Linked DNA regions of Homo sapiens: region 1 is linked to region 2. Evidence: promoter capture Hi-C in 16 types of primary human blood cells and fetal thymus (Javierre and others, 2016). All regions are on one chromosome and are shown on one strand. The core of a region is centred on a gene start or on the middle of the fragment in contact, and the rest is flanking DNA. Distances in the headings are between cores, read along the strand shown. Region 1 holds the start of CHST7 (carbohydrate sulfotransferase 7). Region 2 holds the start of LINC01545 (long intergenic non-protein coding RNA 1545).

Region 1 (6,077 bases), core at 3,207-5,706, 330 kb after region 2:
TCCTTCCTTTCTGTATTTTAATAACCCTGTGTCGTTGTGTGAAGATGTTTTGCTTGGAGCTGTGGCTACCATCTTGTTACAGTGGGAAGATAAGCCAGTGAATGAAAGCCAAGATGTAAAAGATAGAAAGGGCCTAGGTCCTTGGTGACTTGGTTCAGGGTGCTACGGCCCCTACCCAGACCAGAAAAAACTTCACTGACTCCCTCACTGCCAAATCCTGGCCATTGGGTATGGACCATCCAGAAGTTACTCAGGTTAATTCACATGTGGCCTCTCTCCTCAGTTGAGCTGAGGGCACCCTGAGATGCCCTGTGGGGAGGATGGCTGTAAAGTTGTCGGCTTTCCTGTGTAGGCACTGTCGGCAGCTCAGGGATATTTTATTTGTTCAGTGGTTGGGACATATTAGTAATAAAGCTGAGTGTGTTTTCCACCTCATACTAGCCTAGCTGGAGTATCAGGGTGCTGCCAGGGAATGCCAAGGCAGGGGCCAGGTGAGGTATAAAAGAGAGGATTATGAGCTCTGGAGTCTAACACCAAACACTGTTCCACCCTCACCAGCCCAGGTATGACTTTGGGCAAATTACTTCTCTGAGTCTCGGATTCCTCATCTGGAAAACTGGTATAAATAATGATATATGTACAATGCCTAACTCAGTGCATGACACATAGCCCTTCAGTAAGGATCCCTCCCCCTCTCTTCTCCTCCCTTCTCTAGAATAGAGTGTGACAAACTTTTGGAAAACCCATCAGTGAGTCGGCAGTAACGTTATCTTCCTAGGAACCAAGAATACAAGCACTGTAATCAACCCACTGATTGGTGGTAAGTGCCCAATGCGGGAGGAAGGACTCAGTCACTAAAGTCTGGAAGAGCCTAAAGCTTGCTCCCAGATGTCCCTGCAGCCCTGCAAAGGAAGCCCCATCGGCCTTCCAAACAGCAACACCAGTGTCTTCCCTCACAGTCACTGTCACCCACACAGACTCTAACCTCCTAGAGGGCAAAGACTGTCCTCTACCCTCCTCTCTATTCTCTTTAATGCTTCACCCCAGCCAGTACTCAAATAGATGTTAGTAAAAATGAAAAAAAAAAAAAAAAAAAAGCAAAAGTTTCTGGGAGATTGTCATGTCTTAAAGCCATAAAATGCACAGCATTCCGCCCAGGGGAGGAGTTCCCTCAGGCCTGTGAAGAAGGGTTAGGGACAATTACTGTTATATCTGTAAATACAGGATCAGCAGATGAAAGGATGTTTTTGTTAAGATGTGACAAGTCACCCTGTGCCTTACCTTCCATCACTCTGGAAATCAGGAAAGAACACAGACTTCCTAGCAATTTCAGAAACTGACTAAGAAAACCATTTGATTACTGGGAGAAAAATTAGTTAGCCAGCTTCTGAAATCACTCTGAAACCCTGGTTCTGTAACAACAACAAAATCCCTCTTCATTAATATCTTCAACGTTTGTCCTCAGAGCTTCATCTCAGGGGAATGCTGAATTACACTATAAAATAATGAATGGAAACTTAACTCACTTCCGCCCACCCAGCACTACTTTTCCTCCTCCTCTGGACTGACTGCACAGTGCAGAAGGCGGCACCCTTCCAACTCACATAAAGTTTGGGGAAACACACTCCCATGTCACTAAGTAGACTCCTATGGTCAGCACTGTGCAGAACAAACCCTTCCCTCAGGCCATACACTGACCCACACAGAACACATTTTGAGACTGTTTAAGCCCCACTTTAGCATCTTCAGATATACAGAAAAAAACAAAAAACAAAAATGGAAAAACAAAAAAGAGGGGGCAGTGTCTTTTCACAAAGCTCCTCCTGCAGTCACAAACTGCTACTGCCAATTGAAGGCTCCATCTGTCAAACGGATGGGGTGGAGTGGGGGACACCCAACCCTGAGGTCTTGTCGACACTAGAGGAAGCTGACCAGGCAGCTTTTGTGACCTGATGTGAATGGGATATGGTCAAATATCCTGCAAACGCCAGCTACAGGGAGAAGGGGGAAGGGAGAGGAGGAGGGGAAGGGGGAGGAAGAGGAAGAGAGGGAGAGGGGAAATGAGAGAGGGAAGGAGGGGGAGGGGAGACAGAGAGGCGCACATGAGCCAGGGGAAAGCAAGTCTATTCACTACACAAGCGCCTGAGACACACAATGTGCAAGAAGTGTTGCAAGAGCCGCTGGACTGTGCCTGCATGTTTGGAAATTCAGGAGAAAAGCCCTGGAGCCTGCGCATAAAACAGACAGAGAAGAAACATGAAACAGAAAGATTAGGGATAGGTAGGGTTAGAATCAATGCCTTTCCACCAAACTCTCTGCTTTTGGCTTTCTCTGTGCCTGTAAACACCATTGCAAAGTCTCCTCACAGGACAAACTGGCATCAAGATAACTCCATAATCATCAACCTCAAATGGTTTCCGAAATCCTATACTCCACATGTCAATTCCCAGTCTCACGGCTCATTATGACTGTTTCAAACCTTCTCTACTCTCCTCAGCCCTCTGAAACCTCCTACTTCATACAGGGGAATGGGAATGCAGAGACCTGGCTTCCACCTCAGTCACGCCTAAATATCCTCTCTCATCTCAGGATCTCCCTCTAAGGAGGCGCGAGGCTAAGCTGGAGATTCCGATGAATCTACCAAATTCTACGAGCAGGACTTTCCCATCCTCTTGGACCTGATCTGATAGAATGGGATCCAGCATGGTACCCTCCCCCCTACACTTCCCCCTCCCCAGGCCATTCCAGGCTCCCGGAAGACCAGTCCCGGTCCCTGCCTTGCCCCGGGCCACCTTACCCGGATCCGTGCCGGGGACAGGGATGGGAGGCTACGTGGCGCCGTCGGCATCCATCTCCAGCGGCGTCTCCCCTTCCCTGGGCTGCTCCGCGTCGCCCTCCTCTCCGCTGCGAGGGTAGGCGAGCAGACGCATGGCTGGAGCGCAGGCGGCCTCCACCTGGCGCACCTGCTCTCGGCTCAGGCGCTCGCGCCAGGCGTGCACCGCCTCCCGGGCGTCGCGCGCTGACAGGTGGAAGGGCCGGTCGGCGCCGTAGGCCGCGCCGCGAGTCATGTTGAGCGCGAAGGCATCGAGCGCTGCGAGCGCGCGTAGCCCGGAGAAGCGCAGCAGGCGGCGCAGCTGGGCGCGTGGCTGCCGCACCAGGTCCTCATAGCGCAGCCTCAGGTAGCGGCGCCGCAGCCAGGCGGGCGCGCCGCGCGCGAAAAGCAGATCGCGCAGCCAGGCTTCGCAGATCACCTCGAGCGCACCGGTCAGGAAGAAATCGGCGCGCGGCGCGGCGGGCAGCGCGCGAGACTGGCCCCCGGGGCGAGCACCCACGCCGTGCGCCAGCAGCACACGGTGGAAGCGGTCGCCCCTCTGGCGGGTGCGCAGCACCTGGATGCTCTCGCGCAGCAGTCCCTGCCTAGACTTGAGGCGCGAGTTGTGCACCGCCCTCGGGTCGCGGAAAAGCTGCACCACCTTCAGGTTGAGGCCTGGATCACGCAACAGGGGCACCAGCACGCCCAGATCGAGCAGGCGCACGTCCTTGATGACCACCACCGGGTACTTTCGGCACTCGGCCTCCAGGGCGCGTATCGCCACGGGTGGGCAGCTGCGCTCGCAGGCGGTGTCCTCGACGAGGCCCACCTCGGCCCGGGCACGGGGTGCGCCAGGACACAGTGGCGGCGAGCAGATGACCTTGTTAGTCCGCCAGCGGAAGAGGGCGGCCGTGGTAAGATTGGCCGTGTCCGGGGCGCGCGCAGCGGGGTCCCCCGGCGGCGCGTACAGCCGCAGCACGGAGAAGTCGCAGCGGAAGAGCGAACGCAGCATGTCGCGCAGCGCGCCCTGCAAGCTCTCGGCGTCGCCCGGATACAGCGCCTGCCATAGATGCCACATGGGCTCATACAAGTAGAAAACGTCCGGGTGCTGGTTAAAGAGTTCGCCCAGGAAGGACGAGCCGGTGCGCCAGGTGGCATGCACGTAGATGTGCTGCTTCTCGCGAGACACTGCCTCCCCGACAGCGCCGCTGAGGTTGCTTGGGAACCGAGGAGACTGGTTCGCGCCCCCTTCCTCGGCGGCCCGCGCCTCCGCTCCCTGCTCGCGTTCGCCGGCCGCCGCCGCCTCCAGGCTCCACACTCCCAGGCTGCGCTGCAGGCCGGGGCAGTGCTCGGCGCCCTTGTCCCCGTCGCGGCCGCCGTCCAATACGGAGGGGACGAGCAACAGCACCAGCGTGTACAGCACCAACAGCAGCGCGAACTTGCAGTACTCTCGGCGTCGCCGCCGCCGGCCCTTCATCGTTCACCGACCCTCCAGAGCGGGTCGGGCGCCAGTCTTCTCCCGTTCCTCAGAAATCCCGTGCCAGGTCCGCTCCTGTGGCCTCTCCCGGCCCCTCTGCGCCGGGAGGAGCAGAGCCGCGGGGCCGCGCATCCACAAGGGGAAACTTGGAAGGCGGTGGTGCTACTGACGGCGCCCCTGCCCTCTCGGCTTAGCAGCCGGAGAGCCGCCTATTGGCCGGCTTGGCAGCCGCCCGCCCCGCCTTTCTGCCCGCCTGGGTTCGCCCACGGCTCTGCCAGATCTGGGCGGGGCTGTAGCGGGGCTGGGACGCCGGCTTACCCAGCCAGACCCCCACCTTTCCCCAAACCCTCCGTAATGAAGTCTTCATCAATGACTTCAGGCAAAGGAGGGGCCTGTGTGTACAGAATGTACCCAGTAAAGGGCCATAGACCCCACCCGGAGAAGGTCACTGCCTCTTCTGTTTTATGTCCCCTGCCTAGCCATCGCTATCCTAGGCAGATAAACACTCGCCACTATACATCCAGCGCCCCCATCAGCCCTGGAGTGGGTGTTACTGAGTTCCGGACTGAAAGATAGAAGATTGTACGTGGCAGAGCGGTCCAGGGGGGTTGGAGATACTACTGCATCCACGCAGCACATTTCATAAAGTCTAGCCTTTGTGAAATTCTAAGTGTTGTGTTCCTTAGGGTTTCACCAGCTGATGGGCTCTGCACATTTTACCAATACTCTGGGGCCCAGTTTGGTCATTTGTAAAATGTGAATAATTCTTAGTACCCATGTACCTCCTGGGATTGCGAGATTTGGGGGTTGTTACCACAGTATAACCCAGCCTATTCTGACACCTATGAGCAAAAGACATTTACAGAATCAAAGTGGTAGAATGGTGACCTTTCTCAGGAGCTCGGTGTTTAAAAGGACCCGTAAGAAGAAATGTGTACCCAAAGATAGATGAAAAAGAGACAGGAAGTCCAACAGGCAGATGAAGACTAGAGTTACTAAAATTCAAAACAGAACCAAAAAAGATACATTTTGCTCTGTTTCATCAGGCTAATGAATAAGGAAGTGAGAGCTTCCTTTCACCAGCTTGGGGAAGGTGTTGTAAAGTTAATAAAACATAGAAAGCATATCTACTTATCTCCACCAGGGGAAGGTGTTCAAATTGGAAGAGTGAGAACATATGCAATGCTCTCCACTGGTCTTTTTCATCACGGAAGCTACTCCACCTGTGAAACCACTGACTCAAGCATTTCGTTTTCTTTCCACAATTCCCCTCTTCTTCCAGCCAGTTGTTCAAATCTTCCCTATTCTCCAACCTCCACTTTTTGACCACCACCCCCACTTTCTTCTCAATTTTTCATATTCAGCTGAAAGATGCCATACCATTATTTTAATAACACTCCCTCCAATAAGCTAAACTCACGTGCCCTCTGCCTTTTCATTACTCATCTAGCAAAATCCCCCAAACCCTGCTTTTGGCTTTCTCTGTGCCTGCAAACACCACTGCGAAACATTTCTCCACAGGTGTGAGCCAGGCACAGTGGCTCACGCCTGTAATCTCAGCACTTTGGGAGCCCACAGAACAGATCAGCATCAAGATAACCTCATAATCATCAACCTGAAATGGTTGCTGAAATCTTAGGTTCTTCATGTCACTTCCCAGTCTCCAGTTCCATTATGATGATTTCAAACCTTCTCTAGTCTCCTCAGACTTCTGATACCCCTCTTCCCCCACCCACCTCTTCTCAGCACATGACCTTACTGCCTACTTCATAAAGAAACCATGTTAGA
Region 2 (6,730 bases), core at 2,848-5,347:
CCTGGTACCGCTGGGACTCCCACTCAATCCTGTCTGGTGTTCCCATGGGGGAAGAAGGCGGCTTTTTGCCCAGCCACCTGAGGCTACTGAATGGGGGACAGAGCTCTTCCAGTCCCTACTCAGTCTCACTCTGCTGACACCACAGGGTTCAGCTTGGGTAGGGCTGGTGCTGTCCACAGGGTTTTACTTATGCTGGGCTGGGTTTTTCTCCTTTCCCAGTCCTTTGGCCACAAAGAACAGGTTTTTGTTTTGTTTTGTTTGTCTGCTCTGATTGGAGATTCTAGGTTGCAGGCTTCTCCAGCACCCAGTCTGGAACATACAGAAGATAAAAAGAAAAGCCAGGAGCCCATCACAGTGTCGTTCCTCAAGTCCTGAAGTCTCTAGCCAGTCCACTTTCTTCTTTCCACCTACCAGTCCCCTTATGATGGACTTTTGTATTACTTTTAGGAATTTTAATTGTACTTAGCATGGAAAAGCAAAGAGAAATGGGTCTATGTCATCTTGTTTGAAGCTTGGTTACCTTACATTTTAAAATAAATTAATGAGGGCGGGCACGGTGGCTCACGCCTGTAATCCCAGCAATTTGGGAGGCCAAGGCAGGCGGATCACTTGAGGTCAGGAGTTCGAGACCAGCCTAGCCAACATGGCAAAACCTCGTCTCTACTAAAAATACAAAAATTAGCCAGGCATGGTGGCAAGCGCGGGTAATCCCAGCTACTTGGGAGGCTGAGGCAGGAGAATTGCTTGAACCTGGGAGGTGGAGGTTGCAGTGAGCAGAGATCATGCCACTGTACTCCAGCCTGGGTGACAGAGTGAAACTCTGTCTCGAAAAAAAGAGAGAAAAATTAATGAAATAATTAACAGATAAAGTTTTCAGTTTCAGTTGGAAAACACAAAGAATTTACACCTCCCGGGCTCAAGTGATTCTCGTGCCTCAGCCTCCTGAGTAGGGATTACAGGTGTGCGTCATCACACCTGGCTAATTTTTGTATTTTTAGTAGAGATGGAGTTTCACCATGTTGGCCAGGCTGCTCTCAAACTTCTGAGCTGAAGTGATCCACCTGCCTCAGCCTCCCAAATTGCTGAGATTACGGGCATGAGCCACCGCACCTGGCCTCTTTTTTTTTTCCCTTTTTTTTTCTTTTTTTCATTCATAAAATGAAACTGATAATGCTTGGACTTTGGTGGAAAGATACTTTCAGAAAGTATAGGGGATTATTTATCTGTCTTTGTTGAGCCACTGGTTGATGAAACTGGATGCAAGAGCTTTAAACTGCTGAAACACTCTGATAGTGTAACTCACCTAAAATGGGCTCAAGGAACCAAAAAAGAAAAGGCCAAAGAACTATAAAGAAGTAAAAGATCAATCTTGGCAAGACCTCCCTTCCTTTTTCTCCTTTCTCTCCAATCTCTTTCTTGCCCATCACGCCAAATTTCATATGATAAAAATCAATAACTGGCCCAATTTTCCTTAGACAAGTAAAATACCTACTTTCCATGAGTTACTTTGTCTGTGCACAGTAATACCTATGTAAATCCATACACAAATGCTCTGGAAGGATACAGACCAAACTGATAATTGTAGTTCCCAATGGGAGTGGGGATTGAAGAAGATTTTAGATTTATCTCCAATTTTTTCATGTAAAAAAAAAACAAAACCCTGTATTATTTGTGTAATTAACAATTAATAGCTGGGCACAGTGGCTCATGCCTGTAATCCCAGCACTTTGGGAGGCCGAGGTGGGCGGATCACAAGGTCAGGAGATCGAGACCATCCTGGTGGTTTCACCAACATGGTGAAACCCCGTCTCTACTAAAAATACAAAAATTAGCCGGGCGTGGTGGCGCGTGCCTGTAGTCCTAGCTACTTGGGAGGCTGAGGCAGGAGAGTCACTTGAACCAGGGAGGCGGAGGCTGCAGTGAGCAGAGATCATGCCACTGCACTCCAGCCTGGCAACAGAGCGAGACTCCATCTCAAAAAAAAAAATTAATAATGAAACAAAAACAATGTGTGCATTTGCCAAGACATGTGAGTCTGATATTGAACAGAATTTAAGATATGCTTTTTTCTCAATCAAAAATTATTTCACACTCTTGAAAACTAGTGACACCTAATATTTGCTCAGAATTTCACCACCATGACTCCGAAGAACATTTTCAGATAAAATTAGGAAAATTGCTGATTTTTCAAATAAAAAGCAATTGTAAACTCCAGCAACTTTATCTGTATTTATTGTTGAAGTGATAACATGTAAAAATGGTCTCCCTATGCACATAAGTAAATACAAAGCCACCTACAGTGAATCTTTATAGTCAATTTGATAAATTAATGAGCACTGGAAACCTCACTTGATTCTTCGCTACACAGTGATATCCAAAATAGTGCTGCTAGATAGAATCTGCAAAAAAATTGGAGAGGACTTTTAACTCATAGGACTTCACTTATGAAGTCTGTATTCATAGAAGGAGGCAAAAAAAATCAATATTTGTGGAACATCTACTGTGTTTCAAGTGTCTAACTTATGTTTTCTCATCTAATCCTTCCCAAGCCCTCAAGACAATAATCATTATTTCCCATTTTACAGGTAAGCAAACTAAGGCTCAGAGAGAAAATAACTTGTCCAACATTATTACTGGACAGTAGGCACACTTCAAAATAAAATGCTTTCTGCTCTTGTGTAGGTTCAAGTATTTCAAAGCACCTACCATTTCTAACTCAAGGGAGAGTGGATTCATTAAACATTTGTGACATGAGAAAATGATTTCTACAAATGAAATACACATCTGTTCTTTGAAATCCTTCTCAGGTGTTAACTTCAATTGAATTGAATAACTAACTTTTTAAATCAATGAACGGAAAACAGTTTAGTGGAATTAGGTAATAGCATACACCCAATGAGTGAGTTATAATCAGTATAGCTTCCTTTTACCAGATGGCTAATGACCTTCATAGACCAAATACATGTTACAACTGATGCCATGGATCCGTAATATTGACACTCTCTCCATAGAAGCCTATCTTAGCTTGTGATTTATTTTCACAAAGAACAAAATGTTCACTGATGGAAGTTAAAATCAAAATGAAACACCAAACATCACTGTAGTGGTCAGTTTTGTTTTTTGTTTTGTTTTGTTTTGAGACGGAGTCTTACTCTGTTGCCTAGGCTGGAGTATGGTGGTGTGATCTCGGCTCACTGCAACCTCCACTTGCTGGATTCAAGTGATTCTCCTGCCTCAGCCTCTCAAGTAGCTGGGATTACAGGCACTCACCACCACGTCTGGCTAATTTTTGTATTATTAGTAGAGACGAGGTTTCACCAGCCTTGAGGCCAGGCTGGTCTCGAACTCCTGGTCTCAAGTGACCCGCCCGCTTCAGCCTCCCAAAGTGCTGGGGTTATAGGCATGAGCCACTGTGCACCTGGCCTGTAATGGTCAGTTTTATGTGTTAACATAGCTAGGCTATAGTCCCTAGTTTATAACTGGCTAACATAAGCCAGTTATTCCATTAAAATCTAATCTAGGTGGTGCTGAGAGGTATTTTGTAGATGTGAATCAAGTCTATAATCAGTTGACTTTATGTAAACAAGATTATCCTAGATAATCTGGTGGGCCTGAATCAATCAGTTAAAGGCCTTAATAGCAGAATGGAGGCTTTCCTGAAGAAGAAATTCTGCCCATAGACAGCAGCATTGGCTTGTGCTCGAGAACTCCTGCCTGTCCTTTCTGATGGCCTGCTCTAAGGATTTCAGATTTCAGGCTTGCCTAGCTAGCCACCACAATCACATAAGCCAGTTCATCTATATCTATACCTATATCTATATCTATATCTACATGTGTCTCCTAATGGTTCTGTTTCTCTGTTAGAATCCTGACTGATACAATCACTATCTTTATTTTATATATAAATCCATAACTTATATGCACTTAAGAAAAAAAAACTAATTTTCCCTGGATTTCATATTCTTTCTTTGGATTGGATTTTTCTCCATCAGAAATTTCAAAAGGGATTAAGAAAGTGTCTGACTCCAGAGAATGCTCAGCTTCAGAGACTATCCATAATTTTCTTTCTTTCTTTTCTTTCTTTTTTTTAGATGAAGTCTTGCTCTGTCGCCCAGACTAGAGTGCGGTGGTGCGATCTCAGCTCACTGCAACCTCTGCCTCCTGGATTCAAGCAATTCTCCTGCCTCAGCCTCCCAGGTGCACGCCACCATGCCTGGCTAATTTTTGTAGAGACAGGGTTTTGCCATGTTGGCCAGGCTGGTCTTGAACTCCTGACCTCAAGTGATCTGCCCGCCTTGGCCTCCCAAAGTACTGGGATTACAAGCATGAGCCACCATGCCCGACCCATAATTTTCCATATTAGAAGTAAACTGCCCCATGTGTGGCTTAGGAGAGAGTTGTTCCTCTTGGGAACCATCATCTAAGTGAATTCTCAGAAGCCTCTGTATTTAGCTTCCTGAAGATAGACGCACCAGGGCCATAGGAGACAAAAGCCCATGAAAACTGCTCCAGGCCTTCCTCTATGCTCTATCCAAGTCCATTCATAAATCCTATGTGTCTGTTGAGGTGCAAGAACCAGTTTTCAAAAAATTTGTGTACATTTAAGGGGTAAAAGTGCAGTTTTGTTACGTGGATATAATGCATAGTTGTAACGTCCAGGCTTTTAGCATAACCATCACCTGAATAATATACATTGTACCCATTAAGTAATTTCTTATTCCTCACCACCCTCCCATCCTTCTGAGTTGCCAATGTCTATTATTCTATAGTAGAACCAGTTTGTTTGTTTGTTTTTTAATCATAACATCAATAATTTTCCTTAATTCCTTCAGAAATTTCTTGGGAATACTTTACTTGTCTGGGAGACATTACCCAAATGATTTCATTCCACTGTTTCATTTTTGTTTTTGAGACAGGGTCGCCTAGGCTGGAGTGCAGTGGTGTGATCATAGCTTACTGTAACCTTGAACTCCTGGGCTCAAGTGATCTTCCTGCCTCAGCCTCCCAAGTAGCTAGGACTATAGGTACATGCCATTATGCCCAGCTAATTAAATTTTTTTTTTTTTTTTTTTTTTTTTGTAGAGACAGGATCTTGCCGTCTTGTCCAAGCTGGTCTCAAACTCCTGGTCTCAGCTAATCCTCTCACCTCGACCTCCCAAATCATCCCACTTTTTATCCCCCTGAAGAAATTTTGGGGTTACTTTTAGAAATGTTCTTAAATCTTTTCTCTCCCTTTTTTTAACTGCTATTTTTTTATTCATCTATTTATTTAAAACTGATCTTCCAGAAATGATTTAATGTGGCCTGTGATGATACAATTAAATACAGCACAAAGATAAAAACTAAAATTGGCAGGAAAAAAGAGAAAGTAAAGAAGGAAAATAAAAAAGAGTAGGAGAGAAAAGGAGAAAGTGAAAAAGAAAAAAGGAAACAGATTAAAAATGAATAGTAGTCTATAAAATGTATGTGGCTCAAAAATTGGAAAAAAATAAGAAAAAATATATACTTCAAAATGTCCATGAGATAAAACCAAACCAACTAAGAGAATAACAACTATTTTTGGTGTGAAGACAGGAATTCCCCCAGAGATTTACTACAATATTCCCATTCTGTTGCTTTTTAAAAAGAGTAAACAAAGCATTGCTTCTAACCCCAGGTACCATGGTGAGGTTTAAAAAAAGACATCTTTAGGTAGCAACTGATTCCAGTTACATATTTTATTCTTACTTCTCCTAACTTTGGAAAGAATTTATCTGAAACTGCACACAAATTATGAAATCTTCATATTCCTTACTTAGTGCTTGACTCAAGAACCTATTTTGTCCAGTGGAGATAGTCAGGTATGGGGTATCAGAGACCAAGGAGTACTTAGAGAGAATCCTCCTAAAGTGACCTTGTGCGGGCATCAAACATCAAAGCTCAAACAGGATAAGGGGGTATCCACACGTGGTGGTGGTGGTGGAGGGGGATGCTCCCCAGCTTAGGGCATTGGAGTTTGAGCCAGTTGAAGAGTTCCTCCCACCTATCTATAGTGTTTCTTTTTTTGTTTGTTTTTGTTTTGTTTTGTTTTGTTTAGGAGCAGAGGTTTAATAGGCAGAAGAGAAGAGAAAGAGAAACAGCTCTCTCTATATATAGAGAGAGGGGTCTCCGAACAGAAAGGACCAGCAGGCGGCCCATGTGCCAGATTTTATAGTCAGGTTTGAGGAGGGGTGTCTGATTTACATGGGGCTCACAGATTGGTTTGATCAGGTATGACGTTTACATGGACTATGACATTCCCTGGTCTTGCCAAACAAGATTACTTCCCTGAACTGTAAAGCTTCCCACACATTGCATACAGAGAGGATAAGAGATATGGCGGTCGCAGACAGGAAAGGAGGAAATTACAAAAGGAAAGTTGGAGATCCTGTTGCCGACACCCCATCGAGGCAATTGGAGGCTGGGGCCAGTCCAGAAGCCTTTGGATAACACTGGGAGCTAGCCCTGGTCAGAAATCCTCAGCTGCCTCAGGACTTCTTCCAGCCCCACCTGATGGCTAAGTCTTCCGTGAAAGGAAGCTGGTTCAAACATGGCCAATATGCCCAGCAACCCATGGGTGCCGGGAGATTCTCCATGTTCTCCCTAGTAAGCCTGTCCCCCAAGTCTTTTAAGGCTGGCAGCCACACTAATCGTTTTTAAATGGCTGAAGGGGGCCCAGTATTTGGTTTGATTTGGTTCTAAAATGGAAGCC

What was found. Contacts are between HindIII fragments. The CHiCAGO score rates a contact against its expected background, and 5 or more counts as called.
Region 1: a contact is called between the fragment with the promoter of CHST7 here and the fragment with the promoter of LINC01545 in region 2, in 3 of 17 cell types (neutrophils, M0 macrophages and erythroblasts). The highest score is 5.8, in neutrophils.

What each region holds. Positions count from the first base shown.
Region 1 is chrX:46,572,144-46,578,220 of GRCh38, reverse strand. It overlaps CHST7 (carbohydrate sulfotransferase 7), which reads right to left and starts at 4,456. Exons shown (of 2, transcript NM_019886.4): 1 at 2,798-4,456. The coding sequence starts at 4,289. The coding sequence ends at 2,829. RefSeq lists silencers at 3,209-3,268, 3,389-3,438. The HindIII fragment of the contact is 5,347 bases long and covers 880-6,077 here.
Region 2 is chrX:46,897,071-46,903,800 of GRCh38, reverse strand. It overlaps LINC01545 (long intergenic non-protein coding RNA 1545), which reads left to right and starts at 4,097. Exons shown (of 4, transcript NR_046101.1): 1 at 4,097-4,197. The HindIII fragment of the contact is 5,808 bases long and covers 514-6,321 here.